6 separate regions of the Homo sapiens genome follow, and all the other regions are linked to region 1. The links are contacts of gene promoters, found by promoter capture Hi-C in human tissues and cell types (Jung and others, 2019). All regions are on one chromosome and are shown on one strand. The core of a region is centred on a gene start or on the middle of the fragment in contact, and the rest is flanking DNA. Distances in the headings are between cores, read along the strand shown. Region 1 holds the start of ZNF611 (zinc finger protein 611). Region 2 overlaps LOC124904792 (zinc finger protein 480-like). Region 3 overlaps ZNF480 (zinc finger protein 480). Region 4 overlaps ZNF665 (zinc finger protein 665). Region 5 overlaps ZNF610 (zinc finger protein 610). Region 6 overlaps ZNF880 (zinc finger protein 880).

Evidence for each region. Contacts are between HindIII fragments. The study calls those that stand out against the background at their distance.
Region 2: a fragment that was not itself captured here is called in contact with the fragment with the promoter of ZNF611 in region 1 in 1 of the 25 tissues and cell types used here (small bowel).
Region 3: a fragment that was not itself captured here is called in contact with the fragment with the promoter of ZNF611 in region 1 in 1 of the 25 tissues and cell types used here (adrenal gland).
Region 4: a fragment that was not itself captured here is called in contact with the fragment with the promoter of ZNF611 in region 1 in 1 of the 25 tissues and cell types used here (small bowel).
Region 5: a contact is called between a fragment that was not itself captured here and the fragment with the promoter of ZNF611 in region 1, in 1 of the 25 tissues and cell types used here (aorta).
Region 6: a contact is called between a fragment that was not itself captured here and the fragment with the promoter of ZNF611 in region 1, in 1 of the 25 tissues and cell types used here (aorta).

The regions. Positions count from the first base shown.
Region 1 is chr19:52,733,096-52,736,747 of GRCh38, forward strand. ZNF611 (zinc finger protein 611) reads right to left here and starts at 1,949. Exons shown (of 6, transcript NM_001161499.2): 1 at 1,906-1,949. It overlaps LOC124904760 (a long non-coding RNA gene), which reads left to right and starts at 936. Exons shown (of 2, transcript XR_007067328.1): 1 at 936-1,365; 2 at 1,699-2,609. RefSeq lists enhancers at 1,937-2,922, 2,235-2,364 and a silencer at 1,985-2,054. The HindIII fragment of the contact is 18,911 bases long and covers 1-3,652 here.
Region 2 is chr19:53,202,116-53,205,767 of GRCh38, forward strand. LOC124904792 (zinc finger protein 480-like) reads left to right here. Exons shown (of 5, transcript XM_047439805.1): 2 at 1,901-2,027; 3 at 2,834-2,965. Among named protein-coding and RNA genes, the nearest start is that of ZNF665, 11 kb to the left of the region's middle. The HindIII fragment of the contact is 4,533 bases long and covers 1-3,652 here.
Region 3 is chr19:52,302,631-52,306,282 of GRCh38, forward strand. The region is part of intron 2 of ZNF480 (zinc finger protein 480); the gene reads left to right. Among named protein-coding and RNA genes, the nearest start is that of ZNF480, 7.3 kb to the left of the region's middle. The HindIII fragment of the contact is 3,790 bases long and covers 1-3,652 here.
Region 4 is chr19:53,163,557-53,167,208 of GRCh38, forward strand. It overlaps ZNF665 (zinc finger protein 665), which reads right to left. Exons shown (of 4, transcript NM_024733.5): 4 at 1-2,791. The coding sequence ends at 897. Among named protein-coding and RNA genes, the nearest start is that of ZNF347, 6.3 kb to the left of the region's middle. The HindIII fragment of the contact is 5,852 bases long and covers 1-3,652 here.
Region 5 is chr19:52,353,758-52,357,409 of GRCh38, forward strand. ZNF610 (zinc finger protein 610) reads left to right here. Exons shown (of 6, transcript NM_001161425.2): 4 at 1-51; 5 at 494-622. Among named protein-coding and RNA genes, the nearest start is that of ZNF880, 14 kb to the right of the region's middle. The HindIII fragment of the contact is 5,710 bases long and covers 1-3,652 here.
Region 6 is chr19:52,384,409-52,388,060 of GRCh38, forward strand. ZNF880 (zinc finger protein 880) reads left to right here. Exons shown (of 4, transcript NM_001145434.2): 4 at 1-1,387. The coding sequence ends at 906. Among named protein-coding and RNA genes, the nearest start is that of ZNF528-AS1, 12 kb to the right of the region's middle. The HindIII fragment of the contact is 8,137 bases long and covers 1-3,652 here.

The DNA.
Region 1 (3,652 bases), core at 699-3,198:
CAAATAGGGATTCCAAGTGGAACATAACCTCTGATGCCAAGATTTATAGAATGTACATGTCTTATAGATACGAATTTTAAAATTCTCAATCTCATCTGTGTAATTTAAACAAGTTTTTAGTTATTAGATTATATATACAGAACTCAACATGTCACAACCAATCATATCCAATGAACTCACCCACTCATCTGAACCCAGTCTCTCGCCCCTTTTTTTTTGTTTGGAGACAAGGTCTCGCTCTGACGACCAGGCTGCAGTGTAGTCACATGATCTCAGCTCACTGCAGCCTGGACCTCCTGGGCTCAAGTCATCCTCCCAGCTTGGCCACCAGAGCAGCTGGGAGTACAGGTGCACACCATTATGCCCGGTTATTTACTTACTTTTTTGGCGGGGGGGAGGTCTCACTATGTTGCCCAAGCTGGTCTCGAACTCCTGGACTCAAGCAATCCCCTTGCCTCAGTCTCCTAAAGTGTGGAGACTACAGACTACAGGCGTGAGCCACTGTGTCCAGACCCTCTTTCTTCATTACTGTGCTTCCCTCCCTAATTCTGTACATATCTCTCATTCTCCCCTTCTCTCTCTAGCTCTTGTTTTCTTTTCTTTTTCCCTGGGATTCTGCTCTTCATTTTGTACCCCTCTCCTCTCCTGCTATTCATCCCCTTCTTCCCTTTATTCCTTCTCTTCCACCTCTTCTCCTCCATCCTCACAACTTATTTAACCTCTTATTGCTCCTTCTCCCCAATCTTTCAATCGTCCTCAATCTCCATCTATTTCTGCCTCTTCTCCCATCTCTGCGCCTCCTCTGCTCTCCCTGTTAAATTCCATCTTCCCCGATATACTCCCTTGTCCCCACTCTGTGTCTCCCCAGATCCCAGCTGTCCTCTCTGCTGTGGTTCTCCCTCTGTTCTCCTTGACACAAGCACCACTCTGCTCTGTCTGCCCTGGCTCCAAATCCTTCCCTCTCTCCCTCACTCTGATGAGTCTCCCTCTTTGCTGCCACTCCCCCTACCTTGTGATCCTTCATCTCTCTGTACATCTATCTAGCCTTTCTCTACATTTCTCCGGTTGCTTTTCTCCTCCTGCTTTCTTAGGTTTTTTTTTTTTTTTTTCACTTCTGCCATCTCTTGGCATATCCCTCACCAATCCTCTATTTTGCCATCTGTTATGGGCCTTTCTTATTCTTCTTTTCTCTGCCTCAGGTTTTCTACTGCTCTCTGTCTCCTGATTCCTTTGGCCCACACAATCGCAACACGGTTTGGAGTAAGACGCCTGCATCCCGGAGGAGCGCATTTTCCACGCCCTGGAGCTCCGCAGGCAAGAATACCCCGTGCCGCAGGACAGGCCCCTGGGACCTCCCCAGTGCAGGTTCAATGAAAGCGGTGACTGCGGAGGGGAGACCTGGGGAGCAGCAGGCCCCGGCATGAGGAGGAAGGTGCGGGGCGGGGGGGGGGGGCGCGACGGCGCCTTAGGACCAGGATGGGGTCTGCAGGATCCCAGGACCTGGCAGAGGACTCGGCCTCCCCGGGACTGGGGCTGCGGCGCGGCGCTCCCGGGGCTGAGGAGGGGGAGGCTGGGAGGCGCCCTGGGCAAGAATCCACATCGCGGGTGAAGACTTTAAAAAGCGCGGGGCGCGAGGAGTCAGAACAAGGTTTTCAGCAGGAAAACTACGCAACAGAAAGTGTATACATTGACCTATAGCAGAAAGACCGGGGACGAGACCAGCCTCAGGACGACTTTAAACCCAAAAGGAAGCGACCCTCGGGCTCTCACGGGGATGTCTCAATTTGCTCTGGGCAAAGGAAGACGCCGGAGAATTTCCAGGTCTGTGGGGACCCCACGTCCCAGGGACAGAAGCCCTGGGAACCTAGTTAGCGCAGACTTAATACAACACAGAGCAAAACTCACCGCGGCGATATGACCTACACTCCACCCGATCCGCTTCCGGGTTTGCGTTAATCTGCGCGCGCAGGACAAAAGCCAGGCCTGGGCGGGAAGTGGGAGGTAGGCGGGGCCTGGGCGAGGTAGGGGCGGGGCGCGAGGCGGAGAGACCTTGCCTTTTAGAACCGGCAGAGGGCAGGGCCGGGGCGGGATCTGCGCGTCTCTCAGCCTCGCTCCCAGCGTCTCTGTTTTCAGGTTTTGGAGGCGAGAGCGCCAGAAAGTCTGAGGCATGATACAAAAGCCCTGTTGAGAGAAGAGAGAGACCCTCTGACATTGTTTTATATTGTTTTATAGTCAGTAAAAACAACAGGAAGTAAAACCAAAGACAGGCAGCCCCGCGCCAGGCCCGAAACCAGGCCTGGATCCGCCTGGCCTAAACCCAGTAGTTAAAAATCAACTTATGATTTAGAAGCTGATGTTAGGCATAGATTCCAGACATTGTATAGAAGAACACGGTGAAACTCCTGCCCTGTTCTCTCTCTCCCTGATCACCGGTGCATGCAGCCCCTGTCACGTATCCCTTGCTTGCTCAATCAGTCACTATCCTTTCATCTGAAATCTTTAGTGTTGTGAGCCCTTAAAAGGGACAGAAATTGTGCACTCGGGGAGCTTGGATTTTAAGGCAGTAGCTTGCCAATGCTCCCAGCTGAATAAAGCCCTTCCTTCTACAACTCGGTGTCTGAGAGGTTTTGTCTGCGACTCGTCCTGCTACACTGTAATTGTCTGGAACAGGGATACAAACTAGAATGTGAAATGCAAAGCCCTGCCTGGGCGGTATGTACCATGTCATGCTGAGGTCCCACAGAACAGATAGATATCCTCTCCCTTTCTATTGTCCATTCACTCCGGAAGGAGACTCCGCCCTGTGCTCAGCTTCAGAGACTTCCCTGAAGCCACCGCCTGGAATGCCGGACGGAGTGCTCAGGCCGAGAAGGAGTGAGGTCACCACCTGCTGCTTAAAGACAGCAGAGGCGCGGGGGCGGGAGCCTGAGGTCCCAGCTACTCAGGAAGCAGCGGCGGGAGGATCCCTGAGCCTCGGGTTCCAAGCCAGCCTGAGCGACAAAATAACGCCCACTGCCGCGGTCTCCCTTTCTTGTCTCTCTCTCTCTCTTTTTTTTTAAAAAAAACTTTCGCAAATAAAATTTTTGATTGTGTGACATAGGGATCCAACATTATTCTTTTCCATGTGGATATCCAGATAGTTGTCCTAGCACATTTATGGAAGAGATCTATTACTTTCTTGTATTATTATTATTATTATTATTATTATTATTATTATTTTTGAGACAGAGTATTTCTCTGTTGCCCAGGCTGGAGTGCAGTGGCGAGATCTCGACTAAATGCATCCTCTGCCTCCTGGGTTCAAGCGATTCTCCTGCCCCAGCCTTGGGAACAGCTGGCATTACAGGCGTGCGCCACCATGCCAGGCTAATTTTTGTATTTTTAGTAGAGACGGGGTTGACCATGTTGACCAGGCCGGTATCGGACTCCTCACTCCAAGTTATTTGCCTGCCTCAGCCTCCTAAAGTGCTGGGGTTACGGCGTGAGCCAACATGCCTGGCTAATTTTTTGTATTTTTAGTAGAGATGGGATTTCATCGAGTTAGCCAGGACGGTCTCTATCTCCTGACCTTGTGATCCGCCCGCGTCGGCCTCCCAAAGTGCTGGGATTACAGGCGTGAGCCACCGCGCCCGGCCAGAAATATTCTTTTTTT
Region 2 (3,652 bases), core at 792-3,291, 470 kb after region 1:
TACCATGTTGGCCAGGCTGGTCTTGAACTCCTGACCTGAGGTGATCCACCTGCCTTGGCCTCCCAAAGTGCTGGGATTACAGGTGTGAGCCACCGCACCCGGCCAGAAAACAATCTAAATCTCTAACAGAAGGAGATTCTTTACGTCATTTTCAGCACATCCTTCTCTTGGAGGTTGCTTTTCAGCCTCTTGATTCTTTCTTTTGATGCAGAGATGTTTGTAAGTTTGATGTAGTCCCATTTGTATATTTTTGCTTTTCTTGCCTGTGTCTTTGGTGTCATATCTTAGAAATGACTGCAAAATTCAGTTTCGCAAACCTTTTCTCCTACACTTTCTTCTAGGAGTTTTATCATGTTAGGTCATATGTTGAGGCTTTTAATTCATTTTTCTTTTTTTTTGTTGTTTGTTTTTGTTTTTTGTTTTTTTTGTTACCCAGGCTGGAGTACAGTGGTGCGATCTTGGCTCACTGCAGCCTCTGCCTCCCGGGTTCAAGTGATTTTCCTGCCTCAGCCTCCCGAGTAGCTGGGACTACAGGTGCCCGCCATTTCACCACGTTGCCCAGGCTGGTCTCGAACTCTTGACCTCAGGTGATCCTCCCGCCTCAGCCTCCCAAAGTGCTGGGATTACAGGCGTGAGCCACTGCGCCCAGCCTAAATATTTAAATTTAAATGGATAGAATTTTATTTGTAGTTTGACTATAACTATTTCATAGGGATTGGAGTTAAAGTTTTAAATATTTTTTTCATGTTTTTACCATTCTTTTATTGGCATTATATAACATAATGTTGACAAACTAAGTTAAATACAACTTATACACTTTACTGTCCCCAAGATGCTGAAATGCACATGAGGAAAAATGATAATGAAAAAGTCATAAAAAGTATGTCATTGAGAGGCATGTTTTCTCTTTGTTAATTTACATTCGTGTATATATGTGTGCATGAATGTATGGATGAACTATCCTATGGCGTTTATAGACGACACATCACCATTTCATAAATCAGTTCCGTATTTTTATTTTTTTATTTTATTTTATTTATTTATTTTTTTGAGACGGAGTCTTACTTTGTTTCCCAGGCTGGAGTGCAGTGGTGCGATCTCGGCTCACTGCAACCTCTACCTCCTGGTTCAAGTGATTCTCCTGCCTCAGCCTCCCGAGTACCTGAGATTACAGGTGTGCACCACCACGCCCAGCTAATTTTCGTATTTTTAGTAGAGACGGGGTTTCACCATGTTGGCCAGTATGATATCAATCTCTTGACCTCATGATCACCAGCCTTGGCCTCCCAACGTGCTGGGATTACAGACGTGAGCCACCACGCCCGGCCACACTTTTTAGATTCTGACCTTTCTTTCTTTAAAGACACCATGGACATTGTCATCTCTGAAGACAACACACTTCTTCCAGCTCCTCCAGATACTGAATATCACTTTGTGTGTCAAACATAATATCTAGCACTTCTATAGAGATAGCTGTGTGTTGACTATTTATTTCTACGTTTCTTCCATTGTCTACAGAAAGAGAAATCCACACTTATTTAGAAGATATCATAAGCTCTTACAGAAGAGTATAATAAAATGCAATTAGGGAGACATACCTAATGTTCTTCCTAACGTCCCTAAATGCCCCAAAATACCTTAGCATGGATCTGCCAGAACTCTCCCTTCAGTAAATCAATACAATTCTCTCTTTTTCTCATTTTATGTAAAGATGATAACTCTCCCCCATGTGCTTGGTAAAATGTGTTTTTCAGACACGGTTTGCCTGAAAATACCTTTCCATGGATTTCCCAGAACGTTCATTTAAACTAAATTGACTTATACCTCTCTTTTTGTCATTTTGTGTGAAGATAATAGCTCTCCCCATGACTTCTTGGTGAAATGTGTTTTTTCATATCAGGGAAGGTTGACATTCAGGGACGTGGCCATCGAATTCTCTCAGGAGGAGTGGAAATGCCTGGACCCTGCTCAGAGGGCTTTGTACAGGGACGTGATGTTGGAGAACTACAGGAACCTGGTCTCCCTGGGTGAGGATAATGCCCCTCCAGAAGCTGGGATCTGCTCTGCTGTATCTCTGCATGTTCCCTGTGTGCCTCTTGGGAGCCCCTGCATTGCTCAATTAAGACTGAAGCTATGTTAATTCTCAGATGAAAAGCTTAATAGTGCAGCATCTGGACTTAATTATCCCATTTTCAAATGATCTACCTCCTTCAAGATATATCATTGGTGGTTCCAGAGCTTAAGTAGAAATAAACCCTATGGTAGACTTTAAAAATATCTACTTTGGGCCAGCGTGGTGGCTCACGCCTGTAATCCCAGCACTTTGGGAGGCCAAGGCGGGTGGGTCACCTGAGGTCAGGAGTTTGAGACTAGCCTGGCCAACATGGTGAAACCCCATCTCTACTAAAAATACAAAAAATTAGCCAGGCGTGGTGCCGAGCGCTTGTAATCCCAGCTACTTGGGAGGCCAAGGCAGGAGAATCACTTGAACCCGGGAGGCGGAGGTTGCAGTAAACCGAGATCGCGCCACTGCACTCCAGCCTGGGCAGCAAGAGCGAAACTCCATCTCAAAAAAAAAAAAAAAAGAAAAAGAAAAAGTAAAAAAATCCACTTTGCTCTTTTCTGCCCCTTTGCTTGTGATTCAGTACTTCCTAGAGGACAGTTCGATGTTCGTATTTTACCATGTTCCCTAAACATTCAGAAGGAGGCATTCAGTGGGTGAATTTGTGAAATATTTTTCTAGATCCATTTGTAATGTCCTCTTTCCTCCTCTAAACAAAGGGCTGGGATTCTGTAAAAGCCACAGCACATTACATGCCTTTCTTTTTCTAAGCAGGAATCTCTCTTTCTGAAATGAGTATTACCTCCATGTTGGGGCAAGGGAAAGAGCCCTGGACTGTGGAGAGTGAAGTGAAAATAACAAAAACATCAAGTGGTTGGGAATGCATCAAAGGTGTGAACACAGGTAAGAGCTCAAATGGACAGAGAGGAAGCTGCACCATTAGTATTCAGGTAACTCCTTCCGAGTTGAAGAGTTCTGTGGAACAAAAAGGGTTTAAATCCTGTGAGCTCTCAATGGAAACCTTTCTTTGCCCTCATTTATCCCTCTGCTCTTCTGACGTGTAGTAGTTTATCCTTTCACACTCCCATGGCGCTACAGCTCCAACAGTGACAAAGGCAAAGTCTTTATCATGATGGACAACACCCTGTCATGTGGCTTCTGTGACCTCTTTGGTTTCTTCACTCTGAGGGGCACAGGGAGGGTTGTGTCCAAGAGGTCTCCTGTGATCTCTCCTGTACCTGACTGCGTCTGATGCTCAGTTCTCTGTCTATACAGATCAGAGCTGAGGCCTCCATGGACCTGCCCCCTTGACCTATTCAGGTTTTGCCCCATTTCCTGTACTTGGGAGACCTAATCAGGTGACGGGAAAACATTGGCAGCTCCTCCTTTGCATCTGGGGCTCCGGAAACCTCATGGTGCTGTCTCCAGCCCTGTCTGTCTGTCAAAGTCTTTCAGCCTCAGTCATTTCTTCTGTTCTGCTTTTGCCACAGATTGCAGTGTGCGCCACAGGGGAGTACACGGGGTTTTCTGAGATTGTTTACTCAGGTCTGGAATGGCACTAGACAGAGAGGTCCTCTTTTTTTTTTTCTT
Region 3 (3,652 bases), core at 539-3,038, 430 kb before region 1:
TCTACACATACATGCACATAAGCCAGTTTACCAAAAGAAGGAACATAAATGACATCCATTTGCCAAACAGAATTAGGTTCCAATCCTCGAGGATTAACTCCTCCTGTAAAAGATGAGGAATGCACCAATTGGCAAGTTGCGCATTGCTGGATAATAGATTTAGCTTCTTTCCAGGTAATGCTGTATCTATGTTTTAGACCAGAGGCATTAACATGGGTTAAATTGTGAAAGTGTCTGGCATTAGATATTGCAGTAGCAACTAGGCGATCAGCCATTTGATTCCCTGCAGTTAAAGGTCCTGGAAAGGGTGTATGAGCTCTAATATGAGTAATGAAAAAGGGTGCATTCTATTCCTAACTGTGGTTTGTAACTGGGTAAATAAAGTCATTAGCTGTTCATCTGTTGAAATCATAACTGAGCATTTTTAATTGTGTGGAATGGACTACATATGAAGAATTAGAAATTACATTGACAGGCATCTTAAAAGCAGTCAGTACCTTAATTACAGCTACAAGCTCCGATTTTTGAGCTGAAGTATAGGGCGTGTGGAAGACTTTAGTTTTTGATCCAGAGTAAGAAGCTTTACTGTTACTAGACCCATCTGTAAAAACATTTTCAGCACTTTTAATTGGTTTAAATTTAGTCATTCTAGGGAGCATCTAGTTAGTTTTAAAAATTGAAATAATTTTGTTTTTGGAAAGTGATTATTAAGCACTCCCACGAAATCAGCTAAGTGGTTTTGCTAAGTAAGATGATTTATAAAGGATTGTTGTATTTGTGCCTTTGTAAGAGGGACAATAATTTTTTCAGGGTCATATCCATGCAGTTTAACAATTCAAATTCTCCCATTCCCTATCAGAGTAGCAATTTGATCCAAATAATGAATTAGAATCCATGAATTCATATGTGGAAGAAAAAGCCATTCTACCAAGTCTGCTTTTGGACAGTAACACCAGTAGGTGAATGCTAAGTTGGAAAAATCAATAAATCTAAAGCCTTTTCTGGATCTATTCTATTTATTTGAGGTTTTATGTACTTGTTTTTCAATGAGTTGTAACTCTGCCTCAGCCTCCTTTGTTAATTGCTGAGGGCTAGTGAGACTAGGATCTCCTTTAAGGATAGAAAATAGATTACTCATGTCATAGGTAGGAATGCCTAGAGCAGGTTGTATCCAATTAATGTCCCTTAGTAATTTTTGAAAGTCATTCAGTGTTTTCAATTGATCCTTATGGTTACTTTCTGTGGCACTACTGTAGTGTCATTTACTAAGGTCCCTAAGTAGGAGTAAGGAGTAGTGGTCTGAATTTTTGTCAGGAGCTATAATTAAACTGGCATGAGAAATCGAATTTTTTAAGTGATCATAATATTGGAGTAATATTTCCTGAGTGGGGGCAGCACAAAGAATATCGTCCATATAATGAATAATATAACACTGAAAATTTTTTATGAGTAGGTTCAATTGCTTGTTCTACATAAGTCTGACAAATTGTTGGACAGTTTAACATGCCTTGTGGCAACACTTTCCAATGAAAACGCTTAGCAGGCTGCAGGTTGTTTACCGCAGGAATTATAAATGCAAACCGTTCACAGCCTTGCTCAGCTAAGGGGATAGTAAAGAAACAGTCTTTTAAATCTATGACTATTAAAGGCCAATTTTTTAGAATCAGCAGGAAAAGGCAGTCCTGGCTGCAATGTCCCCATAGGTTGTATAACTGAATTAATGGCTCTAAGATCTGTCAACATGCTCCATTTATGTGATTTTTTTCTTAATAACAAAGACTGGAGAATTCCAGGGGGAAAATGTTGGAGCTGTGTGTCCTTTTTCTAATTGTTCAGTAACTAAGTCCTCTAAAGCCTCCAGTTTCTCTTTACTTAGCGGCCATTGTTTTATCCAAGTTGGTTTATTTGTTAACCATTTTAAAGGTATAGGTTCTGGAGGCTTAACAATGGCTGCCATGAAAAATTATATCCTAAACCCTGGTGGGAATTTTGTCCTTCTGCTTGAAGTGGTTTCTTTAACCCTTTTAAATTTTTTTCTAATCCCATGCCAGGCACATACCCCATCTCTTGCATCGTATGCTGACTTTGAGGGCTATATAATTGTTCTGGAATGAACGCTTGTGCTCCCCATTGCTGTAATAAATCTCTTCCCCATAAATTTATAGGTACAGCAGTTACAATTGGTTGGCTGGGTGTGGTGGCTCAAGCCTGTAATCCCAGCACTTTGGGAGGCCAAGGTGGGTTGATCACGAGGTCAGGAGTTTGAGACCATCCTGGCCAACATGGTGAAACCCCGTCTCTACTAAAAATACAAAAAAATTAGCCGGGCATGGTGGTGGGCACCTGTGGTCCCAGCTACTTGGGAGGCTGAGGCAGGAGAATGGCGTGAACCTGGGAGGCAGAGCTTGCAGTGAGCTGAGATCACGCCACTGCACTCCAGCCTAGGGGATGGAGCCAGACTCTGTCTCAAAAAAACAAAAAACAAAAAACAGAAGTTACAATTGGTTGAATAGTCCCAGATTGTTCATTGGGTCCTTCACAATGCAATATATAACTGCTTTGATATACTTTAGGGGCTATGCCAACTCCAACTGTGTTAAATCGAGTGGGTTGAATTGGCCACACGGACAGCCAGTGCTGTAGAGAAATGATTGAAATGTCCTCTCCTGTATCTACCAATCCTTTAAATTTTTTTCCTTAATAGTTATTTCACAGGTAGGATGTTTATTAGTAATTTGATTCACCCAGTAAGCTGCTTTGCCTTGTTTATTCGAGCTTCCAAATCCTCCTGTTCATTTAGTTCATAGCACAGGAGCTTCCAAATCCTCTTGTTCGTAGCACAGGAGCTGTGCTATGGGCTCTCCTGGCTCTGCTTTCCAGGGAACAGAAGTAGATATAACAATTTAAATTTCCCCATTGTAATCTGAATCAATGACTCCTGCATGTACTTGCACTCCTTTTAAATTTAAACTAGACCTACCTAGAAGTAATCCTACTGTCCCCACTGGCAAGGGGTGCCACAGACTCCTGTTGGCACTTTTTGCGGGGGTTCCTCAGGCAGAAAGCTCACAGGTTTTGTGCAGCATAAATCTACTACCAGCTATGGCAGGGGACAGGTATTGTATGGGGGTGAGGGAGTGGCCTGAGCTGGAAATGCCCCGGTTTGGAATGAGGCCTGGGACGGGCCCCTCATGGCGTTTCCTGAAATCGGGTTCCCATCTTCATCAAACTTAGAGTGACACTGATTAGCCCAGTGTTTTCGTTTTTTACATTTTGGACATATTTCAGGGTCAGCAGATTTCTTTTTTCCCCCAACTGGCAGCCTGACTTGCTGGTTTTTTCTACATTCTTTTTCAATATGATCATGCTTCCCCCAGTTAAAACAAGCTCCAGGAAGTGGAGTATTTCCTTTACCCACTTTCAGTCCTGCCATTGCCTGGGCTAGCAGAGTAGTCTTATGCAGATTACCTCCAATACCATCACAAGCTTTAATATAGTCAACCAAATGTGCTTTTCCCCTAATAGGTCACAGAGTGGCTTGGCACTCAGGATTGGCATTGTCAAAAACTAATAACCACAACACTACGTCCTGAGCAGCTGAATCTGCAATCACCTTTTTAAGAGACTCCTGTAATCTAGCTATAAAATCTGC
Region 4 (3,652 bases), core at 747-3,246, 430 kb after region 1:
GATTCTTTCCCGAACAACACCATGTTAGGCGTATAATCATGTATAAAATCAGCACATTGCAAAGTTCTGGTTGGAAGTTATAAATAGTAGCCTTTTCAATAAATCTTAAATACTTCAACAAAACATTTTATAAGCTGAAAGTAATTGGCCATTTCCAAACATCCTACAACCTTTGATATGTATCATGTAATGAGTTTTAACACATTTGGACTTCTGATTATGCTGAAGTATATAATATCAGAGGGTTATGAGGAAACTAGAGACTGAGTTCTACTCTTCCTATGAATCCTCACCTACAGTTGTGGTCCAGGAGTAATAGTCTCAGCATGCATGTTACGTTTGTGTGACTTCATCAAAGATGTATCTTTTGATGCGTATTGAGCTCTGAGACCTGGATAAAGCTTCTGTCATACATAGTATATTCACAGGATTTGAACTCTGATGTCTGTTAATGCTTAAACTCATCAGGAGTTTGCCACAGTCACTGTATTTGTAAGAATTGTCTCAAGAATGAATTCTCTGATGTTGTGAAAGAATTTGTGGCTGAAAAACTGGCCGCACTCCTTTGTAAGGTTACTTTTTTTTTTTTTTTTTTTTTGGAGATGGAGTTTCACTCCTGTTGCCCAGGCTGGAGTGCAATGGCATGATCTCGCTCACTGCAACCTCCGCCTCCCAGGTTCAAGTGATTCTCCTGCCTCAGCCTCCCGAGTAGCTGGGATTACAGGCGTGCACCACCACACCCAGCTAATTTTTGTATTTTTAGTAGAGACAGCGTTTCACCGTGTTGGCCAGCCTGGTCTCGAACTCGAGACCTCAGGTGATCCCCCCGCCTCGGCCTCCCAAAGTGCTGGGATTACAGGCGTGAGCCACCACGCCCGGCGTCCTTTGTAAGGTTTCTATCCACTATGAATTCTTCGATGTTTTGCAAGGTTTGAATTTTGAGTAAAGACCTTGCCACATTGGTTACATTTGTAAGGTTTGTCTCCAGTATGGACTGCCATATGGGTAGTTAGGGTTGAACGAACACTGAAGGCTTTCCCACACTCATTACACCTATAAGGTTTTTCTCCAGTGTGAATTCTTCTATGATTTGCAAGATGTGAATTTTGAGTGAAGACCTTGCCACATTCATTACATTTGTAAGGTTTTTCTCCAGTATGGATGACCTGATGGGTAGCTAGGTTTGAATGTACACTAAATGCTTTGCCGCACTCATTACACTTATAAGGTTTCTCACCAGTGTGAATTCTCTGATGAATTGCAAGGTACGAATTGTGTCTGAAGACCTTGCCGCAATCATTACATTTGTATGGTTTTTGTCCAGTATGTATTGTCTGATGTATAGTTAGGCTTGAATGAACACTAAAGGCTTTGCCACACTCATTACACTTGTAAGGTTTTTCTCCAGTATGAACTCTCCAATGCCTTGCAAGTTGTGATGTTTGACTGAAGGCTTTACCACATTCATCACACTTGTAAGGTTTCTCTCCAGAATGAATTCCCCGATGACTTGCAAGGTGTGAATTTTGTGTGAAGACCTTACCGCAGTCATTACATTTGTAAGGCTTTTCTCCAGTATGAATTGCCTGATGGGTAGTTAGGCTTGATCGCACACTAAAGGCTTTGCCACACTCATCACACCTGTAAGGTTTCTCTCCAGTATGAATTCTTCGATGATTTGCTAAGTGTGAATACTGAGTGAAAACCTTGACGCATTCATTACATTTGAAAGGCTTTTCTCCGGTATGGATGATCTGATGCTTAGTTAAGTTTGAATGCATACTGAAGGCTTTCCCACACTCATTACACTTGTAAGGTTTCTCACCAGTATGAATTCGCCGATGCTTTGCAAGGTATGAATTGTGCCTGAAGACCTTGCCACATTCATTACATTTGTAAGGTTTTTCTCCAGTGTGGATTGTCTGATGGGTAGTCAGGCTTGAGCGAACACTAAAGGCTTTGCCACACTCATTACACTTGTAAGGCTTCTCCCCAGTATGAATTCTTCGATGACTTGCAAGGTGTGAATTTTGAGTGAAGCACTTGCCACATTCCTTACATTTGTAAGGTTTTTCTCCAGTATGGATGACCTGATGTGTAGTTAGTTTTGAATGTGCTCTAAAGGCTTTGCCACACTCATTACACTTGTAAGGTTTCTCTCCAGTATGAATTCTCTGATGACCTGCAAGGTTTGAAGGTTGACTGAAGACCTTTCCACATTCATTACATTTGTAAGGTTTTTCTCCAGTATGGATGACCTGATGGATTGTTAGGTTTGAACGAACAGTAAAGGCTTTGCCACACTTATTACACTGGTAAGGCTTCTCTCCAGTATGAATTCTCTTATGACTTGTTAGCCGTGAGTTTTGACTGAAGACCTTGCCACATTCATCACATTTATAATGTTTTCCTCGATTATTAGGAGACTTCTCAACTTGATTGTATTCATAAATTTTCCCTTCATGTTGAAATTGCTGCAGTTCAGGGAGATGTGACTGAAAGCTTACTCCAAGCTGATTTTCAATATGCCTGTTTCCTGCAGCCCTTCTATCACGTTGAGCTCTTCTACCAGGGAGATTTTCTTTTTGCAACATAAGTACTGTTTTATAATTTCCTTCATCATCTTTCCACTGACACTCAAAGTCGTATGTATTTTTCTGAACTTCCTGGAAGGACAAGCCTACAGTGTCACAGCTTTCAAGTCTCTCCAACTTCACCGTGTAGAACGCTTCTCCCATATTGTTCTTCCCCTTTGGTGGCAAATCCGTGTTTACACATTTACAAGAGATATCTGTAAGATATAAACAACCATAGATTTCCAGTTAACTATAGTAGGTAAATAACTATTTCCCATTGAAAAACCTAATGTTACACCAAAAGTAATAGTTATGTTGAACAGACTTACGATTCTTCAGAACCATAATTTTCCAGAACACAAAAGGAACAGGATTCCTTATCAAAGAAAAGGTGGTAACATGTAATTCAAATAGTAGGGGATCCTAGTTTTAAACATTCTGTGAACAAAACACTCATATTGTGCAAACCCATATTAGCCCTGAAAGGAGTATTTTTCAACCATGACCCAAGGCTACCAATTGGCAGTATATTTTATATGGCTGTCACAGAATTCAAGAGAAATAATTCTTAGATTGTGCCTATTTAAAGCATATTTGTTATGCATAAGTAAATGCTGAAGCACAACATGATATACTCTAATGGCAAATAACTCACAGCAAACATATGTAATGAATAATTAAAGAACTAGTAATTTTGAATTGGAAAACAATAATAGCACTGAAAAAACGAGGAGGAATTCAATTTTAAAATGTCAGAAAAAACTATTTTTCTGAATACCTGTTATAAAACTACATACCCCTATATACCCACACAGAGCAAACATTTTGCAACATTAACAAGTGGTATATAACAGTTATATTTCTTTCTTTCTTTCTTTCTTTTTTTTGAGAAGGACTTTTGCTCTTGTTGCCCAGGCTGGAGTGAGTGGTGCAATCTCGGCTCACCGCAACCTCCGCCTCCCAGGTTCAAGCGATTCTCCTGCCTCAGCCTCCTGAGTAGCTGGGATTACAGGCATGCACCACCAGGCCAGACTAATTTTGTATTTTTAGTAGAGACAGGGTTTCTCCATGTTGGT
Region 5 (3,652 bases), core at 525-3,024, 380 kb before region 1:
CTTTATACAGGGACGTGATGTTGGAGAACTACAGGAACCTGGTCTTTCTGGGTGAGGATGACTTCCCTCCAGAAGCCGGGATCTGCTCTAATCTGTCTTTGCATTTTCTCTTGCGTGCCTCTTGGGAGCCCCTAAATTGCTTAACTGAGGTAGAAACCTTGTTGACTCAGAAATGAAAAGCTCTATTATGCTCTCTGGATTTGAAATGCGTCCTTTCTTCAGATGTACCGCCCCCTTCATAATACATCATTGGGTGGCACCGGATAACCAGTTCTCTGTTTTCTCCCCTGTGCTTACAAGTCAGTAGTTCTTGGAAGAGATCTCAGTGTCTACATATTGCATATTCCCTAAGCATTCAGAAGGAGCCAGTCTGTGGGTGAACTTGTGAGATATTATTCTTGATCCATTTGCGATATCCCCTCTCTTACCTAAACACAGGGTTTGGGTTTTGGAAATGCCCCAGCACATCTTGTTTCTTTCTTTTTATTAACAGGAATCTGTCTTCCTGACCTAAGTATTATTTCCATGTTGAAGCAAAGGAGAGAGCCCTTGATTCTGCAAAGTCAAGTTAAAATAGTAAAAAATACAGATGGAAGGGAATGTGTCAGAAGCGTGAACACAGGTAAGAGCTCTGATGGGCAGTGTGGAGGCCATAGTTTTTATTTTTTTATTTTTGAGCCAGGGTGTTCCGCTATCACCCAGGCTGTAGTGCAGTGGCAATCATAGCTCACTGCAGCCTCAAACTCCTGGACTCAAGCAATCCTCCTGCCTTGGCCTCCCAAAGTTGTAGATTATAGCCACTGCACCTTGCAAAGCCATACTATTTTTTTTTTTTTTTTTTTTTTTTGTCTCACTCCGTTGCCCAGGCTGGAGTGCAGTGGTGTGATCTCGGCTCACTGCAACTTCTGCCTCCCAGGTTCAAGTGATTCTCGTGCCTCAGCCTCCCCAGTAGCTGAGATTACAGGCATGTGTCACCACACCCAGCTAATTTTTGTGTTTTTAGTAGAGACGGAATTTCACCATGTTGGACAGGTGGGTCTCAAACTCCTGACCTCAAGTGATCTGCCTGCCTCAGCCTCCCAAAGTCCTGGGATTACAGACGTGAGCCACCACACCCAGCCCATACTAACTATTCAAGAGTGTGTGGGAAACTCTCCAAAGGTGGGAGAGTTCTGTGAGAAAAGAAAAGTTTAAATCCTAGGCATTCTGAATGGAAATATTTCTTTGCTCTCTCTTGTCACTCAGTTCTATAAATGTGTGATAGTTTCATCTTTTCACCCTCGAGTGGTGTTGCCACCCAGAGACAAAAGCAAAGTCTTTATCCTGATGGACAGCACCCTGTCATGTGGCTTCTGTGAACTTTTGTTCCATGATTCTGAAGAACACAGGGAGCATTGTTGCCAGGGGTCTCTTTCCCCTGTGGTCTTTCTTCCTGTACTTGATTCCATCTGATGCTTAGTTTCTGTCCCTGTAGGTCAAAGCTGAGGTCTTCATAGACCTGCCCCCTTGACCTATTCATGGTCCACCCCATTTCCTGTAATGGGAAGATGTAATCAGGAAATGAGAGAACATGAGCTACTCTTTTTTGCATCTGGGCCCTGGAAACTACAGGTGCCTCCAGCCCCCTCTGCCTGTTCAGGTCTATTTGGATGGGAAGAAGCCAGTGATTTTCCTATTCTCACATGCCACTCAGCACAGAGCATTTCACTTCTGGTCACCAAAATGTGTGGGGATTTCTCCCCATCGGCAATTTTTCACTGGATCTTTACTGGGTTTTCTATAATTCATTTCTAACACTGTCTACCTGGAGTTAGAATCAGATCCCACAGGCTAAGGGTTGGGTTCCCAAGCCTGTCGCCCACCTCAGCCACCACTTGTTAGTAGTAGATTGTCACCTTTCTGTCTGACCAACACAGCTGTAAGCTGGGTTCCCTCGACTCCCTTCTTGGGTTGATTACTTTGCTCGGGTGGCTCACAGAACTCAGTGAGACACTTCATTAGGTTCACTGGTTCATGATGCAGGATGTTTCTAAGGATACAGATGGACAGCCAGATGAGGAGATTCACAGGGCGAGGCACGTGGGAAGATTGACTGGGTGTGCCGCCCTCCAGGCGCCTGTGTGTCTTCAGCATTTGGAACCTCTTGTGACCCCATAGTTCACGAGCGGCTTCATCACGTAGGCGTGATTGATATTAACTCAATCTCCAGCCCCTCTCCTAGAAGCTAGTGGGTGGGGCTGACAGTTTCATGCTTCTAAGTATGGCCTGGTCTTTCTGGTAATCAGCCCCATCCAAGGAACCCACAAAGGTTGCCTCATTAGAGCAGATCACACTCGTACCACCCAGGACATCTCAAGGTCTTCAGAGCTCTGTGTCAGGAACCGGGGAAGAGACCAATGTATGTATGTATTCTTATTCCACAAGGCCCCTCAGCCATTCTTCAGTTGTGCTTCATCCACACTTTACTGGTGTGTGTCACAGGGGAGTAGGTGGCTCTTCTGAGATGCTTACTCAGCTGAGTGGGGCAGATAGTCAACAGAAAGACCCTGTATTCGATCCCTAGGTCCCCATGGGGAACATGGCACAAAATAGCAACCAGATGCTTCTGGTTTTAACACTACCATCATTTGTTCAAACCACTGTTACTTTCATCTTGTACCTTTCCATGTATTATAAATTAACTTGGTTTTTGTATATTTAGTCAGCAGTTCCATATTTCATATAATACTCTTTGTGTTTATTATTTTGTATCTGTAGGGCTGTAGTATCAGGGAATGGCCATTGATTTATATATTTTTGAGTGTGGTTTTTTTAAATGCACAGGGTATGCCTCAGCAGGAGAGTCTCTAAAACTGACACTCCAGAAATTTTTGAATAGGAGTTTAAATATTTGTTTTCCTTTGTTGTACGTGACTTAGTAGCTACTATTGAACAACACTTTTGCCAATTAAATGTATTACAGTGTATAATATGGAAATTTTTTATATCTTAAGAATATGCTGTTTTAAAATTGTTGCCATCTTAATCTCAGAAATACCATTACACTGACTTGCCGTAATTTGTTATTTAAGACTGAGGGGCAAAACTCAAACCGTATCTTCCTCTGTCTGGTCTTGCACCACGCAACAATAAACACAGACAACTTATGTCACCAAATGTGAGTTTTACTTCCACCAATAAGCAATCAGTTCTGCAGTGGCTACTTGCTGGGGGCCCTTGAATTCTATTCTGATGCTGTGTACCTGGAGAGCGTGTCACATGCCACAGGTTGAGGGCTCAGTCTCCAATACTGCCCCCTTTCAGACACGGGTCATAAGTCCAGGCCTCTGGAACTTTCGACCAACTGGCTTCAAAAGTTGGGGTTCCCATGGCTCCCTCTTTGGGTTTGATTAATTTGCTAGAGTGGTTCACAGATCTCATGGTAATACATACTTAACATTTACAGGGTTTATTCCACAGCGTATTTTAAAGGCTCCAGGCCCGGCATGGTACCTCATATCTGTAACCCAAGAATTTTTGGAGGCTGAGGTGGGCGCATTACTTGATCCCAGGAGTTTGAGACCAGCAACATAATGAGACGTTATCTCTACAAAAAATTAAAAAATTGGCCGGGCGCAGTGGCTCACGCCTGTAATCCCAGCACTTTGGGAGG
Region 6 (3,652 bases), core at 782-3,281, 350 kb before region 1:
TTCACTCAAAATTCTCACCTTGCAAATCATCACAGAATCCACACTGGAGAGAAACCTTACAAATGTAATGAGTGTGGCAAGGTCTTCAACAGAAATGCACACCTTGCACGACATCAGAAAATTCATAGTGGAGAGAAACCTTACAAATGTAAGGAATGTGGCAAAGCATTTTCAGGGGGTTCAGGCCTTACTGCTCATCTTGTAATTCACACTGGAGAGAAACTTTACAAATGTAATAAATGTGGCAAGGTCTTCAATCGAAATGCACACCTTACCAGACATCAAAGAATCCATACTGGAGAGAAACCTTATGAATGTAAAGAATGTGGCAAGGTCTTCAGGCACAAGTTTTGTCTAACCAATCATCATAGAATGCACACGGGAGAGCAACCTTACAAATGTAATGAATGTGGCAAAGCATTTAGAGACTGTTCAGGCCTTACTGCCCATCTACTAATTCACACTGGAGAGAAACCTTACAAATGTAAAGAATGTGCCAAGGTCTTCAGGCATAGATTATCCCTAAGCAATCATCAGAGATTTCATACTGGAGAGAAACCTTACAGATGTGATGAATGTGGCAAGGACTTCACTCGAAATTCAAACCTTGCAAATCATCACAGAATCCATACTGGAGAGAAACCTTACAAATGCAGTGAATGTCACAAAGTCTTTAGTCACAATTCACACCTTGCACGACATAGGCAAATTCATACTGGAGAGAAGTCTTACAAATGCAATGAATGTGGCAAGGTCTTCAGCCACAAGTTATACCTAAAAAAACATGAGAGAATTCATACTGGGGAGAAACCGTACAGATGTCATGAATGTGGTAAGGACTTCACTCGAAATTCAAACCTGGCAAATCATCACAGAATCCATACTGGAGAGAAACCGTACAGATGAAATGTGTGTGGTAAGATCTTTAGTAATAATTCACACCTTGCACAGCATGAGATAATTCATTCATGAGAGAGTTCTTACAAACTGAGTATGGCAAACTCTTCATGCTAAGTTCTAGCATTAATCAACATCAGAGATTCCATACTAAAGAGAAATCATAGCAATGTATGTGAATCAGGTCTCTTGAGGCCTGCCAAATGACTAGATATCAAAACATACATCTTGGATGAAACCATACAGATGGATTATGTATGCTGAGGCTATTATTCAAGGACCATTACTATGGAACATGATAAGATTTACACAAGCGATAATTCAGTCTCTAGTTCTCCAATATTTATGATACTGCATGCTGCAGAAAAGTCACAGCTCCAAATACGTTGAATCTCATGACGCGATGCATGTCGAAGGTCCAAGGGCATGTGGAAATGGTCAGTTATATTCAGGCAATTAAAAAACCTAATTATATGGGGTTTTTTGAAAAGGCTACTTTACATTTTATGACTTTCATCCTCAACTCTGAAATCACTTCATGTGACTTCTTTACAGACCTTTCACTGTGGTCTCTTGAATCAGTAGGATGCTGGGCGCGGTGGCTCCCGCCTGTAATCTCAGTACTTTTGGGAGGCTGAGGCGGGCGGATCACGAGGTTAGGAGATCAAGACCATCCTGGCTAACATGGTGAAACCCCATCTCTACTAAAAATACAAAAAATTAGCCAGGCATGGTGGCAGACGCCTGTAGTCCCAGCTACTCGGGAGGCTGAGGCAGGACAATGGTGTGAACCTGGGAGGTGGAGCTTGCAGTGAGCTATCACGCCACTGCACTCCAGCCTGGGGGACAGAGTGAGACTCTGTCTCAAAAAAAAAAAAAAAAAGAAAGAAAAAGAAGCAGTATGATGACAGGGATGACTTCATTAGCTGAGAATCATTTCTATCAGTTTGCCGAGGAAGAAGGACACTGCGTTTTCTTATTATTGTCTGATTTAGAGAGCATGGAGGTGGGGAGGAATCATATAAAATGATGATGGCAGTCATCATACTGTTGCTGAGCACTTTTTTCCTGACAGAATGGCACAGTGCTTCTGTGCTCTACCAACTAGCCATGAAATAGAGCATATCTGTAGAAATCATGCAAGGGAGATGGTGGGCACTAGGACTGCATAGCAATCACTGTTTAGGCAAGAATGATTAAAAAGTAGTCATTTTTGGCTGGGCGCGGTGGCTCACACCTGTAATCCCAGCACTTTGGGAGGCAAGGTGGGTGGATCACTTGAGGTCAGGAGTTTGAGACCAGCCTGGTCAATATCTCCAAACCCCATCTCTACTAAAAATACAAAAATTAGCTGAGCGTGGTGGTAGATGCTTGTAATCCCAGCTACTCGGGAGGCTGAGGCAGGAGAATCGCTTGAACCCGGGAGGCAGAGGTTGCAGTGAGCCAAGATCGCACCATTGCACTCCAGCCTGGGTGACAAGAGCAAAACTCTGTCTCAAAAAAAAAAAAAAAAAAAATAGTGGTCATTTTTGAAATGGAAGAGAGAACAGTTGATTAGAGAATTTAAACTACCAGTATGCCATGTTCTTGAGTAGCATTTACATTTAACTGTTGGCATAATTTCCAACTGTTTGATTTAGAATGTACATAGTTCTCATGTTTTAATTAATAAAATTTTCCTAAGTATGAATGAATCACATCATTTCTACCAATTGTTTTAGTCCCCCTTAGGAGAATATACTGCACAGTAATGCAACATTAATAGTAAATACTCTGCAATTTGGTTTTCTTTGTCTTCACACTGAGTTATGTAGCAGTGATATGTGTCTAATCACTCTAACTTTAGTGTAAAATAGGCATTTTTAAAAAATGCACCATTAAGGTTGACGCATCCAGAACAATTTTGTGTGTGTGAAATCAACATATGCACACACTTGTGGTGCATATCCTTGGGTAAGTATAATTTACACTAATCATACTTAATACTTGAGTTATTCTTTCTGTGCCACTTCAGCCTCCTACACCCTCAAAAGTCCATGAAACATTCACTGTTCATTATATTTCTACGTGCCTATTGTGTGCCAAGGAAGACTCATGGCATGCACCTTAATTTTTATGAAGCAAAAATACAAATATATGACAAATACTTTTTTTTTTTTTTGAGACAGTGTCTTGCTCTGTCACCCAGGCTGGAGTGCAGTGGCACAATCTCGGCTCACTGCAACCTCTGCCTCCCGGGTTCAAGCAATTCTCCTGCTTCAGCTTCCCTAATAGCTGGGACTACAGGCGCACGCTGCCACGCCCAGCTAATTTTTTGTATTTTATTAGAGACGGGGTTTCACCATGTTGCCCAGGCTGTTCTCGAACTCCTGAACTCAGGCAATCTGCCTGCCTCGGCCTCCCAAAGTGCTAGGATTACAGGCGTGAGCCACTGTGCCTGGCGACAAATACTATTAAATGAAAGAAAGTATGTTAATAAGAGTGAAAATACTGTACCACAATGTCTTTTTTTTCCTAGTAGTGCATGTCTTTTTTTTTTTTCCTAGTAGTGCTCAGTGACGTAAGTGGAAAATATTAATGTTCATAAATTTTCTTTTTTTTTTTTTTTTTGAGACAGAGTCTGGAGTGCAGTGGCACGATCTCGGCTCACTGCAACCTCCACCTCCCAGGTTGAAGCAATTCTTCTGCTTCAGCCTCCCAAATAACTGTGACTACAGGCGCGCACCACCACGCCCGGCTAATTTTTGTATTTTTA